3 separate regions of the Homo sapiens genome follow, and all the other regions are linked to region 1. The links are contacts of gene promoters, found by promoter capture Hi-C in blood cells and fetal thymus (Javierre and others, 2016). All regions are on one chromosome and are shown on one strand. The core of a region is centred on a gene start or on the middle of the fragment in contact, and the rest is flanking DNA. Distances in the headings are between cores, read along the strand shown.

Evidence for each region. Contacts are between HindIII fragments. The CHiCAGO score rates a contact against its expected background, and 5 or more counts as called.
Region 2: a fragment that was not itself captured here is called in contact with the fragment with the promoter of RSPH3 in region 1 in 2 of 17 cell types (total CD8 T cells and naive CD8 T cells); the score reaches 6.0 in total CD8 T cells.
Region 3: a contact is called between a fragment that was not itself captured here and the fragment with the promoter of RSPH3 in region 1, in 1 of 17 cell types (total B cells). The highest score is 6.2, in total B cells.

Annotation. Positions count from the first base shown.
Region 1 is chr6:158,997,570-159,001,960 of GRCh38, forward strand. It overlaps RSPH3 (radial spoke head 3), which reads right to left and starts at 2,633. Exons shown (of 8, transcript NM_031924.8): 1 at 1,866-2,633. The coding sequence starts at 1,981. It overlaps TAGAP-AS1 (TAGAP antisense RNA 1), which reads left to right and starts at 2,304. Exons shown (of 5, transcript NR_183546.1): 1 at 2,304-2,823. RefSeq lists enhancers at 1,376-2,347, 1,832-1,981, 2,002-2,051, 2,082-2,151, 2,322-2,481 and 2 more. The HindIII fragment of the contact is 7,152 bases long and covers 1-3,906 here.
Region 2 is chr6:158,751,408-158,755,798 of GRCh38, forward strand. It overlaps SYTL3 (synaptotagmin like 3), which reads left to right. Exons shown (of 18, transcript NM_001242394.2): 13 at 521-623. Among named protein-coding and RNA genes, the nearest start is that of MIR3918, 11 kb to the right of the region's middle. RefSeq lists an enhancer at 3,904-4,391. The HindIII fragment of the contact is 4,980 bases long and covers 1-4,391 here.
Region 3 is chr6:158,771,534-158,775,924 of GRCh38, forward strand. The region is part of intron 8 of EZR (ezrin); the gene reads right to left. Among named protein-coding and RNA genes, the nearest start is that of MIR3918, 9.0 kb to the left of the region's middle. RefSeq lists a silencer at 1-128 and an enhancer at 1,066-2,265. The HindIII fragment of the contact is 3,806 bases long and covers 208-4,013 here.

The DNA of each region.
Region 1 (4,391 bases), core at 1,383-3,882:
ATAATACTTCCTCAAAATTGAGATTTTTCTGTCTTGTGCATTACTCAGATATACTAATAAACTAATCAATAGATTACTTCAATATACTAATCAACTATCAAAAAAGTTGTTCCTAATGAACCACCATTGATTCTTGTTTCTAATCTGTTGGTCTGATTGGATAGTAATGATTTGTAAGCAACCACTTAAAGGCACCAGAAAGTGTTTTTGGAAGGATTAGAAAATTTTAAAATTGAATCCTTTTCTAATATAAATGATCACTCTTCAAATTTAAATTTTCTATTTTAGTTTTCTTACAGTGATAGACATCTCTTATAGAAAAAGAATTTGTTAGAACAAGATAATTATGAATTTAGAAAGAGCGTTTGAAATAAGCATCAATAATTACATTGTTGATGTTCAATCATCAGTTTGACAATTCGTATTAAGTGCTTACTATGTACCAGGCATTGTACTAGGTGAACAAAAGATGCAAAAGTTCCTGCATCCATGGAGCTTGCATTCCTATAAAGTTCTGCTGAATTCAACATTTGAGGCTTATGGAAAGAACTTTAGAGAACCGTTTAACTTTAAGAGAACTTTAAGAGTTTATGTTTTTTTTGCTGGGTGTGGTGGCTCAGGCCTGTAATCCCAGCATTTTGGGAGGCCGAGGCGGGCGGATCATGAGGTCAGGAGATCGAGAGTATCCTGGCTAACATGGTGAAACCCCGTCTCTACTAAAAAAATACAAAAAAAAAAAAAAAAAAAAAAAGAGCCGGGCGTGGTGGCGGGCGCCTGTAGTCCCAGCTACTTGGGAGGCTGAGGCAGGAGAATGGCGTGAACCCGGGAGGTGGAGGTTGCAGTGAGCCGAGATTGTGCCACTGCACTCCAGCCTGGGCGACAGAGCGAGACTCCGTCTCAAAAAAAAAAAAAGAAAAAAAAAAAGGCTTATGTTTTGTTTTTTTTCTTTCCTATGTATGTTTGAATATTTGCAACTGTTCATGGATGTAAAAACACAAACTGCCGTCCGGGCGCGGTGGCTCACGCTTGTAATCCCAGCACTTTGGGAGGCCGAGGCGGGCGGATCACTTGAGGCCAAGAGTTTGAGACCAGCCTGGCCAACGTGGCAAAACCCTGTCTCTACTAAAAATACAAAGATTAGCCGGGGGTGGTGGAGGGCGCCTCTAGTCCCAGCTACTTGGGAGGCTGAGGCAGGAGAATCGTTTGATCGGGGAGGAGTGGGGGAGGGGGGCGGAGGTTGCAGTGAGCGGAGATCGCGTCATTGCAGTCCAGCCTGGGCGACAAGAGCGAAACTCCGTCTCAAAACAACAACAGCAACCACCACCACCACCACCACCACCACCACAAAAAACCAATCTGTGGTCCTGCATGGAAGAATAATCTTACTCCTGCTCAAAGCCTGCCGAAGAGATTTACTCGGCTCCCATTTTGGATATGCTACTGTTGGATATCTTTGCACCGCGGTCTCCTCATCTGCATAATGGAGTTATAAAATCAACTTCACAGCACTGTGGATTAACTAAGAAAACGTATTTGAATGCCCCCCGTAAGGTGCTCAGCACGTAGTTGGCCCTCAATACACACTGGTACAATTCAAACTTTGTGAAATGAGCCAATTCGTGTACATGTTAAGGACCACGGCAGCAACTCATATCACTAAAAGTTAACTGATGCCCAACCCATGCCCCTTCCTGCTTCACTCCTCCACACCACGGGAGATTCCTTAGGGCAGAACTTTTATTTCGGCAGAGTGCAGCCAAGGGAAGACAGCATAAGCAGCTTTTTTGCCAGGGCGAAGGGGCCAGACCCCGGCCTGGGGATGGGGTGCAAGTATGGACCACACAGGGGCTGGCTTGGTCACTCACGGCTGCGTCAGGCTGTCCCGGTAACGGCTGCGCTGGCAGGGCAGTGCTCGGGGCCGGCTGGTGTAGGTGTAGGTGCTCGGGGCCCGAGAGGTGCGATCAGTCAGCGCTGAGGCCATGTCCGGGGGCTGACTGCCTCGCTTTCGGTGGAGCTTGGCTTTGAAGCAGGTGGGCGCTAAGGTGTTGTGGGACCCGGAGAGATGTAAGTAGTGCCAAGGGCAAGGATTCCGCGACGCGAGGAGAGGCGACAACAAGGGAGGCGGGCGGGACGGGAGGTTACCAGCGCAGGAGGTGGGAGCTATACTGGGCTCGCTCCCAGCACCACAGAGACCAGCTGCGGGGGCCGCATCGGTTGCCCAGCAACCCAGGGTTCTGTCTGGGGGCGGGAACTCCGGGCAGTTCCGGTCCCCAGGTTTCCCGGGAAGGACTGCGGCACAAGGGACTTCCGGCTCTTGACTCCGCCCAGCCGCGCCACCCAGGTAGGTGCGCCTGCGCTTTGCGAGGTTCCTGGCTAGGGAGGCGGCCTTGGCTGGCTTGACCGTCATCCTTGAGGCCTGCGGGGCAACGGTGGCTGTCCTTGGCCCGGCTTTGGAATGTGGCTTTGCAGGGCTGGTGTTGGCGCCATTCTCGCAGGCCCACGTGCTCCTGCTCTTCCAGGGTGTCCTCGGCTGTTTCTCCTGCCGCGGCGCAGCAGCGCTCCCAGGCTGCCCCCGCGATAACACGCCCCTGGCAGCCAGGCTCCCAGCTCTGTTACGTGCCCGGGCGGGGAAGAGCTTCCTGGTGTCTCCCGGCTCCTGCCCTTCTCCCGCCCCAGGGGCGGGCTGCCGCCGCCCTCTGCAGCTGAGTCAGTGCAGTTCCTCACCTACCTTCTCTGCTCACCGCTGTGTGCTAGCAATCGGAGGACCCTTGGCACACGGAGCGACAGGGGCCTCCCCCACAGACACCTCATTTTGGGAAAGAAGTGAGCAATTTATTGAGTCTTAAAAAATACAAAGGCATAGTTCCCCTTAATCTATCAGGCTTCCAGCTCTAAAGAATGTCTCTAGTATTGCGGGGTGGGGCTGCGCTTAAAAACGCAGACGCTTTGGTTTTAGTACCAGCAACGTTAAAAATCTTCTATCTTGTATGAGTGAATGTGTATCCCTTGTGATCAGTTATTTGCATTTGCAGTTACACCTTCATTCAGCTAATTGCTGTCTTGATTTGAATCCAGGTTCTAGAATGTACTAGCTCCGAAACCTCAGGCAAGTTAAATGTTTTTGTGCTTCATTTTCCTAATCCACAAAGTGGCAATAGAAGAATTTATCTCTTTAGGTTTTGTCTTGAGGATTAAAACCGTTAATACTTAGAGCTGTGCCTGGTAAATGGCAAGCCTTTATATTAAGATCTGGACCGTTCTGTGCTTTGAAGTGTATGACCTAAAGCAGATGTAGGCATTCTATAAGTAACACTAGCATAAAGGTGTATGGTAAATTCTAGAGGTGAAAACACTCCCAACATATTTTAGGTCTGATCATTTAATTTTGAGGTAATTTCTGAAAGGGCTAGAGGAGAAAGTGACATTTAAGTTGTGTTTGATAAATGATAGTATTTTAACTGGCCAGCCTCTTGGGGGAAGTGCATTCGGAATGGCTTGATCAAAGGCTCAAGAAGCCCAAGGTGCATTTGGAAAACTGTAAGCAAGGTTTGTGTAGATGAGTTGTAGAAATATATATAGACAGGCTGACACCACATCGTGGAAACAGTAAACACTAGCATATTAATTAGAATATTTTTTCCCTCAAGTAACAAAAAACCAATTCCAAGTGGCTGAAATAATAAGGAATTCATTATTTTACACTCCCCAGGTTGGTTAACCTGGAGGGTAACTTGGGGGCTCAGCACATTATCAACAACACGTTTTTTCCCCTACCTTTCCACTCTGTCACCTGGGTTGTTGGCTTCAACAAAGTAGTAATAGAAGTATCTGCTCTTTTGTCTTTATTGGAAGAGCAAAACCCCCTCGTAAACTCCCAACTGACCAGAATTACATCATATTGATTTAAGCTTAGGATCTATATAAGACCACCATATTTGGATTAGACCAGGTAACCGGTCTTTCTAGGCCTCCAAGAAACACTTGGCCAGGGAGGAGGAGAACAAATTCTGTTAGGAGGATGTTGGGGCAGAATTGAGTGGGTATTAAGTGGGTAAACAATAGTGCTATACCAGCCACAGTGGGCTTTATAAAGAAATTGATAGCCACTATAGGTTCTTGTACAAGTTTCTTTCTTTTTTTTTTTTTTTAGATGGAGTCTCGCTCTGTGGCCAGGCTGGAGTGCAGTGGCGCGATCTTGGCTCACTGCAACCTCCGCCTCCCCGGTTCAAGTGGTTCTCCTGCCTCAGCCTCCTGAGTAGCTGGGACTACAGGCGTGTGCCACCCCGTCCAGCTAATTTCTGTATTTTTAGTAGAGGCGGGGTTTCACCATGTTGGCCAGGATGGTCTTGTTCTCTTGACCTGGTGATCCGCCCTCCTCAGCCTCCCAAAGT
Region 2 (4,391 bases), core at 959-3,458, 250 kb before region 1:
GACATCTGTCATGCTGCGTGCGACCTCTAGACTCAGCAGAATCCCACTTCTCAGCGGTTGGGAGGAGCAGAGTCTTTGAGGCCCCTGCAAGGAAACAGCACAGTGCGAGGCATATGCTTTCTACTTCCACTTTTTTTTCTTTTGCAGGTGGTGGGTGGCAGAAGGGACGGGAATCCGGCTCATGGCCTTGACATCCAGGCAGGCGAGAGAATCTCTAGTTCCATGGTCTTCGCCAAATGGAGTAGGGCCTGAGGAAGGCAGGACGAGCTTCACACCCCCAGGAATATTCCAGAGGGTTATGTGGCTAGCATTTGACCATAGACTGCATGGATCAGAAGCTGCCCACCCAGCACTAACGTTGCTCACTATTAGGCTATTAAGTCCTTTCTATCAACCCAAAAATTCCAGCAGGAAGCCTGGTAAAGAAAACGCTGGCATGTGGGTTCTCTGCTGCCCCCAAACTCTTTATCCACCCCTTTCCCTGAGTTCTCACTCTGTCCCCGCTGTGTTTGGCCCCTAGGTATGTGAAGACCTACCTGTTGCCCGACAGATCCTCCCAGGGAAAGCGCAAGACTGGAGTCCAAAGGAACACCGTGGACCCGACCTTTCAGGAGACCTTGAAGGTACTTGCTGGACAGATATTCCTGTGCAGAGTCCTCCCGAGCCCGGGTGGAGCGCCTGGGGCAGAGTCCAGTGGATGGTGCTTTCAAACTCTTGACTCAGTTAGATATAATACAGACACCTATATGTTTCTTCGCAGCTCTGTCAATCAGTGTTAAGTTGGTAGAAAATAAATGTCAGCCTTTGTACAGGAAAAGTGCAGAGTCTGCCAGACTCAGGAATGGCTTTTGATTAATGATTTCTGAGAAGATGGTGAAAAAGAACCTGGCTGCCTCTTTGTCTCGGGCTAACACCGGGGCACAGGATAATTTTAAACATTAGTTTGTCTTAGTGAATGTTTCTGTCAAAGAGGTGCTCTCAGACAGAGTGCCCTGAAAATTAAACTCCTGAGTTACTGTCTTTGTAAAAGTGCCCCTTTATTGTATTTCTGACAAACTCAGGTTTCTTCTAATTTTATTTTTTTTAAATGAATCCTTTTATGAAAAATCTTACAAAGGAATTGTTTGGGTTTTCACTTTCTATGATACTAGGAAATGTGATTGATGGTTGAGGGCAGAGATGGGGCCATGCGCTCTGATGTCGGGTGGAAGGCTGCAGCTGAGGTCTGGTATCTGCAGAGAGCTGGCTGTGGTGGCCCCAATCTTGGTGCAGGGTGAGGGGGGTAGCCCAGAGCTGCAGAGGCTACCCTGCCGGGGCTGGGCAGCCAGAGGTCCCCTCGTCTCATGCCTATGACAGGAGAGGGCTTTGTTTGCCTTTCTTGGCAAGTAGGGGGTGTCTGTGAGCTGCCAGCCAGGGGCCATCTGGGCAGCTGGCACAGAGCCCTGAGTTCATTAAATAATAATAGCCCTTGTTTCCTGGGTCCCTACTGTGGCCAAGTGCTTTATATACAGCCTGGGGTAATTATTAGAATCCTCATTTACCCACGGGGAAACTGAGACCTAGAGAGTCCTTAGAAATACAGCTCAAAGCCACAAAGGACTGGCAGTTCTCAAAATTTGTGTGCGTAAAATCCCATGGGGATTTACATTTTTAAAACATTTCTTCTTTTCTTTTTTTTTTTTTTTTTTTTGAGATGGAGTTTCACTCTTGGTCGCCCAGGCTGGAGTGCAGTGACATGATCTTGGCTCACTGCAACCTCCACCTCCCAGGTTCAAGCGATTCTCCTGCCTCAGCCTCCTGAGTAGCTGGGATTAAAGGTACCCACCACGATGGCCAGCAAATTTTTTGTGTTTTTAGTACAGATGGGGTTTCACCATGTTGACCAGGCTGGTCTTGAACTCCTGACCCCAGGTAATCTGCCCACCCCGGCCTCCCAAATGCTGAGATTACAGGCTTGAGCCACCACGCCAGGCCTAAATTTCTTATTTTCTAAGATGCCCCTGTACTTAGAACTGGGGATTTTTTTAAAATGCAGATTCTGGGCCGGGCGCGGTGGCTCACGCCTGTAATCCCAGCACCTTGGGAGGCTGAGGCGGGTGGATCATGAGGTCAGGAGATCGAGACCATCCTGGCTAACATGGTGAAACCCCGTCTCTACTAAAAATACAAAAAATTAGCCGGGCGTGGTGGCGGGCGCCTGTAGTCCCAGCTACTTGGGAGACTGAGGCAGGAGAATGGCGTGAACCCGGGAGGCAGAGCTTGCAGTGAGCCGAGATAGCGCCACTACACTCCAGCCTGGGTGACAGAGCGAGACTCCGTCTCAAAAAAAAAAAAAAAAATGTAGTTATATAATTGGAGTTAAAAGGTTACCTACCTTAAAATGTACACAGAATCTCAAAGATATCACTTAAAATTTTTATCCATGGGTCTTATCTAGTATATTGTGAATATTTTATAGTCCTGGGAAACTTTCCAGTTACAATTAAAATAATCGGCATCTCTAATTGATCCTAAATGCAAAATAACCCAACACCGGCCAGCCTCATCCTTAATAGAAATATGCATAAGATGCGAAGGATGGGAAGCCGGGGAGGCCGATCCAGCATTAAAAGTCTCGCTAGAAGCCAGTATTTCCAATCACAATCACACCTTTGTGCAGCACCCAGGCTTTGTGCGACCTGAGGTGAGCCATCAGAGTACGATTCAGGTGGATGAGGCTGTGAGAACTGTCTCCAGCCAGTTTTGAGAGAAGTGCACATCAAATGCGAGGATCTAGAAATTGATCCTCAAATTTTTCTGAGCAGAGTACTTCTTGGCAAGCCTTTCTGGACCCAGGGAGACTTGTACCCCATTTGACACCACTGTCCTGGGGGCCTGGAGAGGATGAAGTGATCTCACTGGGTGACATTGGTCATTGCCTGGCCCTGCTCTCAAATGATCCTTACACCTCATTCCCAGCTGAGCCTGGAGCAAGCCTTGTGGACCTAACAGGGCTATGGAAAATAGGTCTGGTTTGAAAAGGTAGATTCTAGGCTGGGTGTGGTGGCTCACGCCTGTAATCCCAGCACTTTGGGAGGCCGAGGCAGGCGGATCATGAGGTCAGGAGATCGAGACCATCTTGGCTAACACGGTGAAACCCCGTCTCTACTAAAAATACAAAAAATTAGCTGGGCACAGTGGCGGGCACCTGTAGTCCCAGCTACTCGGGAGGCTGAGGCAGGAGAATGGCGTGAACCTGGAAGGCGGAGCTTGCAGTGAGCTGAGATCACACCACTGCACTCCAGCCTGGGCGACAGAGCGAGACTCCGTCTCAACAAACAAAACAAAACAAAGCAAAGGTAGATTCTGTATGTAGCAGGGAGTAGTCCTATTGACAGAAAGGGGCGAGCAATGGGTAAGGACCCAGGAGAAGTGGCTGAGCGTCGCCCACACACAGCTGGAGATGAGAGAGCTGCCTGGGGGCCCGAGCCCGACCCTGCTAAGTGGCGTGGCGTTCTAGTAACCGCTTCATTTCTCAGAGGGCAGCAGATGCAGCTGGCCAGCTGCCTGGACTAACTGATAAGGAGTGTAGCTGGAATATGGGGAATAATCACATCAATCCAGAGTTTATAGACAGAGATTGAATGTGGGGCAGAGTCGGAAATGGACCCATGGGCTGGGTGTGGAGGCTCACGCTTGTAATCCCAGAACTTTGAGAGGCTGAGACGGGTGGAGGGCTTGAGCCCAGGAGTTCGAGACCAGCCTGGGCAATGTAGAGAGACCCCATCTCTACAAGAAATTAAAAGATTAGCCGGGCATGGCGACGCCTACCTGTAGTCCCAACTACTTGGGAAGCTGAGGTGGGAGGATCGCTTGAGCCTGGGAGGTGCAGGCTGCAGTGAGCTGAGATGGCACTGCTGCACTCCAGTCTAGGTGACAGAGTGAGATCCTGTCCCCCCAAAAAAGATATGGACCCATAGACTTGAGGGAAAACTGGCTAAAAGTTACCCAAAGGCAGGAGAAAAGGGAATGTGACCCAAGAAATGCCCATCTCCATGGCCACAAGCCACCCCAGCGGGGAGGAAAAGGAGGAATGAACTGAGGAAGCTAACCTGGCCAGCCAAGCCATTTGTGCCTGGCCCGCAGACATCAGAAGTGTGGACAGAGCCTACAGGCAGCCCCCAACAGAGCAGGGGACGGCCCTGCTGCGCCTCCCCTCTGTTTGCAGAGGCTGAAGGAGGGAAATTACCGTGTCTCAGTTCCTGTTTTATTCCATCTCGTTCCTCGATTGGAAAGATGGGTAAAGGTGGGCATGAGGAGATGAACCCCAAAGCAAACAAACCGCACAGCTGCTGCAAATGGGTGCAAGTGTCCAGCCTCACAGCAACAGCCGTGTCACGAGGAGTCACCAT
Region 3 (4,391 bases), core at 861-3,360, 230 kb before region 1:
CTCGGCACTAGGAATGTGCATTCTCCAGGACAGATGGAGGAAGGGCACGTGCCGCGTGTGTGTGCGGTTATGTGTGGGTATGTAGCACTGGGAAAGTGCATTCTCTGGGACGGGTGGAGGAAGGGCAGGTGCCGCGTGTGTGTGCAGTTGTGTGTGGGTAGGGACATCCTGCATGCACACTGAAATGCCACTGCACGTTAACTGCAAAGCTTTTCCAAGGTGAGAACTCTCAGCCTTGGGAAACCTTTCAAGTCTCAGAGCTGCCTGCTCTTCCAGGTAGCCACCTTTCATGATGTCCTCTCCAGCCTCACTGCTGCTCCCCATCCCCGATGCTTGCCTGGACTGCCTCTGCTGCTATTTGGGCTTCCTGTCTCCTCTGCCACAGCCTCCCCTCCCACACTGTTATTGCTACACTGACTGGGTCACCACCCCGACCCATCACTGCCAGCCTGGGAGCTCCAGGATGAGCTCCAGGGCCTGGGCCCAACCCACACAGAGACCTTCCAGCTCTGGGCCCAGCCTCCGCTGTGCACTCGGTTCTCTCTCCTCAAAGCTATCCAGCCCTGCTCCTGCCACACCAGCTACAGGTACTCGCCGCAGTGGCACTGTCACTTCACTCCAGTGACTCCTTTCAGCATCTCACTCCTATGAGGCCATCAGCTCCCAAGGGCAGGGGCCACACATTCACTCATCTCTTATCTTCCCAGGGTATTTGAGGTGTGCAGTACCTGCCAGGCACTGCCAGCTCGTGCAGCACAGACAGCCACGTGCGAGCTCCACAGCCTTGAGCACATCCCTTCACCAGGCTCAGTGCCTTCAACCATAAGGCAGGGATGCCGGTATCTCAAGGGACTTCAGATATGGGACTCAATCCTCCCAGCAGTCCCATTAGATGCTGGCGTCCCCGCCTTATCGGTGACGTTCAGGAGGTGCTCGGCGCAGGAAGAGCTGGCTGACACACACAGCGGTCACTCCAATTGCTAGTGCCTTGCAAGACCACAACCAGAGGAGCCTCCTGGAAAACAAGGCAGAATCACAGCCTTCGGGAAACTCGTGACCATGACTGGAAACATTTGGGACACAGCTGACAATCTTGGTCCCAACTCCTTGCTACTGCTGTGATTAGCTTACAAGACAGAAGAATATGGTTTAGAAACTCCCATGAAAAGTTATTTTTCAGTGACTCTGTTGGCTTCCTCTTAACCTCAGGGCCCCCAGCATCCAGCTTCTGACCATTTGGAACAGAGGGACAGGGTGGCTAAAACAAAAAAACAGTGCGATATATCCCACAGCAACTTCTGAGACCTAACGAGGAACCGGCTGAGCGGGCTCATCAACACATCCGAGAAGAATCTATTTAGCTTCAGTCTTTTCATCTGTTCCAGAAATCCTAGGGTGAGAGGTGATGCCAAGCCCTGAGAGCCCATGAACTTCCTGGGTGGGGCTGTCTTTGGGGTTTCACACCCTTGCTGTTAAGTCATTGGGTTTCCCAGGGAGGAGTCTGTGGAGCTGGGAGCAATCGGCATTTTTATGACCCACCTATCCCTTATTACACAAGAGGAAACAATCCTGCATTACAGCTTTGGAGGACTCTACCAAATAGGCCCTGACTCAGAAAACGCTGATTAGCACCAACTCCCCTTTATGGGGTTGTGGGGGTGCATGGGTGGGGGGATCAATGAAAAACCTCAATGGTTAACATAACAATGTCTCCCTCTCTCCCTTTCCCTGCAGAAGACAGGTCCTGCCAGCAACGGGAACCAGAATTTGGGGAGTCCACTGCCAGTGGGTGAGGGAGGATGGTGCCTGGCAGGAAATCTCTCCCAGTGCCTTTGAAGGAAGCCGGTTTCTCACTTCAAGTTAAAACAAAGACTCATACTGAAATGTTTCTAAATCCAAGTCCCTAACCTGATGCAGGATGCAGCTTCCTGATGCAGAACCACAACACGACAAGACCTGGAGCAGGGTTTTTAAACTGGCCGAGGACCAGCAAGGTAAAAATGCAAACCAGGCACAAGGAAAGTTCAAGAAAAATAAACCCAAGACCCTACAAATACAGAAGGAGAGAAGGTAAAAGAGCCCCTTTTCAAGTCCCCAGGATGCCAGGAAACTCTCCCACAAGAGGCCAATCCCAAGGCTCATCTGGCCGCAGAGATGGCAGGAGGCAGCCGCGGGAGGCAAAAAGGCAGCGGGGCTCCTGGGAAGGTCACGTGGGGGAAGCGTCCGAGGAGTCAGAGCGGAAACGCTGCTTACTTTCTCCAAATTTCAGATGCCTCAGAGCCTTCTGCCTTTTCCACAAGGCCACAGGAACAAAACGCCCTTTTGAAAGGGAAAAGGCAGCCGCCTCAGCCCCTCATAGTGTCACCTGGGCAGGCCGTGTCAGCTGTATACAAGGTCCCATCTAAAGAGCCAAAGTGTGGCCCCAAACTGCTGTATGCACCTTGGCAGGGAAGAGAAGCTGGCTTTTAAAAAGGAGACGCCAGTTGTTGGGTGAGAACTGGACAAAGACTCATTTGTGAGTTCACAGCAGAAACCGCCTGGGGTGAAGATGACCCGTGAAAGTCAACACAAGATAAGGAATCCCACCGCCTCAAACTTTGGGCCTCTTCTTTTTTACAAGAAAGTTCGATGTCGAAAACTTGAACTTCTTCTGCCCAAAGTTTACAGACTGAGGTGGGGCAGTGCCTCGAGCAGCCCTGGGGTGCTGTGGGGGTGACAGAACTCCACCTCCTCAAACCAGCAGTGCCCACTCAAGGCAAATGCTGCCTCCTCAGTGTGGCTCCTGCCCAACCTGCCTAAAGGAATCTCACCCCCATCTTCTGATCCGGCTTAGTTTTTAATCACAGCTGTACTGTTAAATTTACTACCAGGAAGCATCTCAGTTGCCTTTTTAACCCTTTCCTTCACGTAAATGTAGGCTCACCAGGGTAGGAGCTTTGCCTTGTTGATGGTGCACACAGCCCTGGAAGAGTGCCTGGGACAGCGTGCCACCAGCGAATGTTTCTTTTGCTTACGAGATGGCTTCACATGAGGCTACTCTATAATAAAGGCACATGCACGAGATGCGTTACAATGGCTTCTGCTTGGGGCTTATTATGAAAATATTCTTCAGCTTTTCAAGAGATGGACTTATCATCAAACACACACACACACACACACACACACACACACACACACACACGCACAAACATTCTGAAACAGTCTAGTCCAGAGCTGCTGCTCTAGTCAAATTTTTAATAAGTGTTCTGAAAAGGCAGTAGCGTCACAGAGTACGTAGTAGCCTACTGATGAAGAGATTTCAGCATTTTCTTGCTCTTCTAAACTGTGCCAATCTTACTACCCAAGTGACATGAAGACGCTATGACCCTCCATTCATGCTGTTGCATAATATGAACTGCTGCCATGGAGCCTTAGAGTCTGCATTCAATACGCGTTTAATTTTAAATAACCGTGCAACTACCCACAGAGTAGCAGCCAAGAGTTTGCAAACAGCAGGAGCCCTTTTTTTTTTTTTTTTTTGAGACGGAGTCTAGCTCTGTCACCCAGGCTTGAGTGCAGTGGCGATCTCAGCTCACTGCAACCTCTGCTTCCTGGGTTCAAGCGATTCTCCTGCCTCAGCCTCCCGAGCAGCTGAGATTACAGGCGCCCACCACCACGCCCAGATAATTTTTGTATTTTTAGTAGAGATGGGGTTTTCACTGTGTTGGCCAGGCTGGTCTCGAACTCCTGACCTCGTGATTCGGCCATCTCAGCCTCCCAAGGTCCTGGGATTACAGGCGTGAGCCACTGAGCCTGGCCAAGACGTTTTTAACAAAGAAGAAAATACTTTCACAAAATTGTCAAGACCTGCTGATTTTAAATTATGCTAGACAAACCTGTATGTGGGGAGAAGTAACAGGACAATAACACCACATACTGTTCTAAGTGGATTTACCATTGCTAAGCAGTACCCAGTCCCAAAAGGGTTAACAAGACAACCAAGGTATGGACCACAGCCCATGTTTGCCTCTCCAAGCTTAACACTGTAACTAAGGAACCAAAATTACATGAGAACACAAAGTCCTTTCCAATCTATAATTTTCGTAAAATTCAGAACAGGCTCTAAGGTGGTAACAGAATTTCTTCAGGTGGCAATTTTTTAGAGAACTAGATTTCTGATTAGATAACAAAATCCTTACCCATTCTACAATGCTACAGTTATGTGCGTATGTCTCAAATATTCTGAGTTAACAAAAGTTTAAATGTCAGCAGAATAAATAAAACCAAATTTACATAATGCACTGGTCTTTGCAGCTATTACAATCAATACTATCAGATTTCAGGACATAAAGTGTCGCCTTCTTACCATGTCCTCCCAAAATGACTGCCTGCCAGTGTCACCTGTGTGAGGA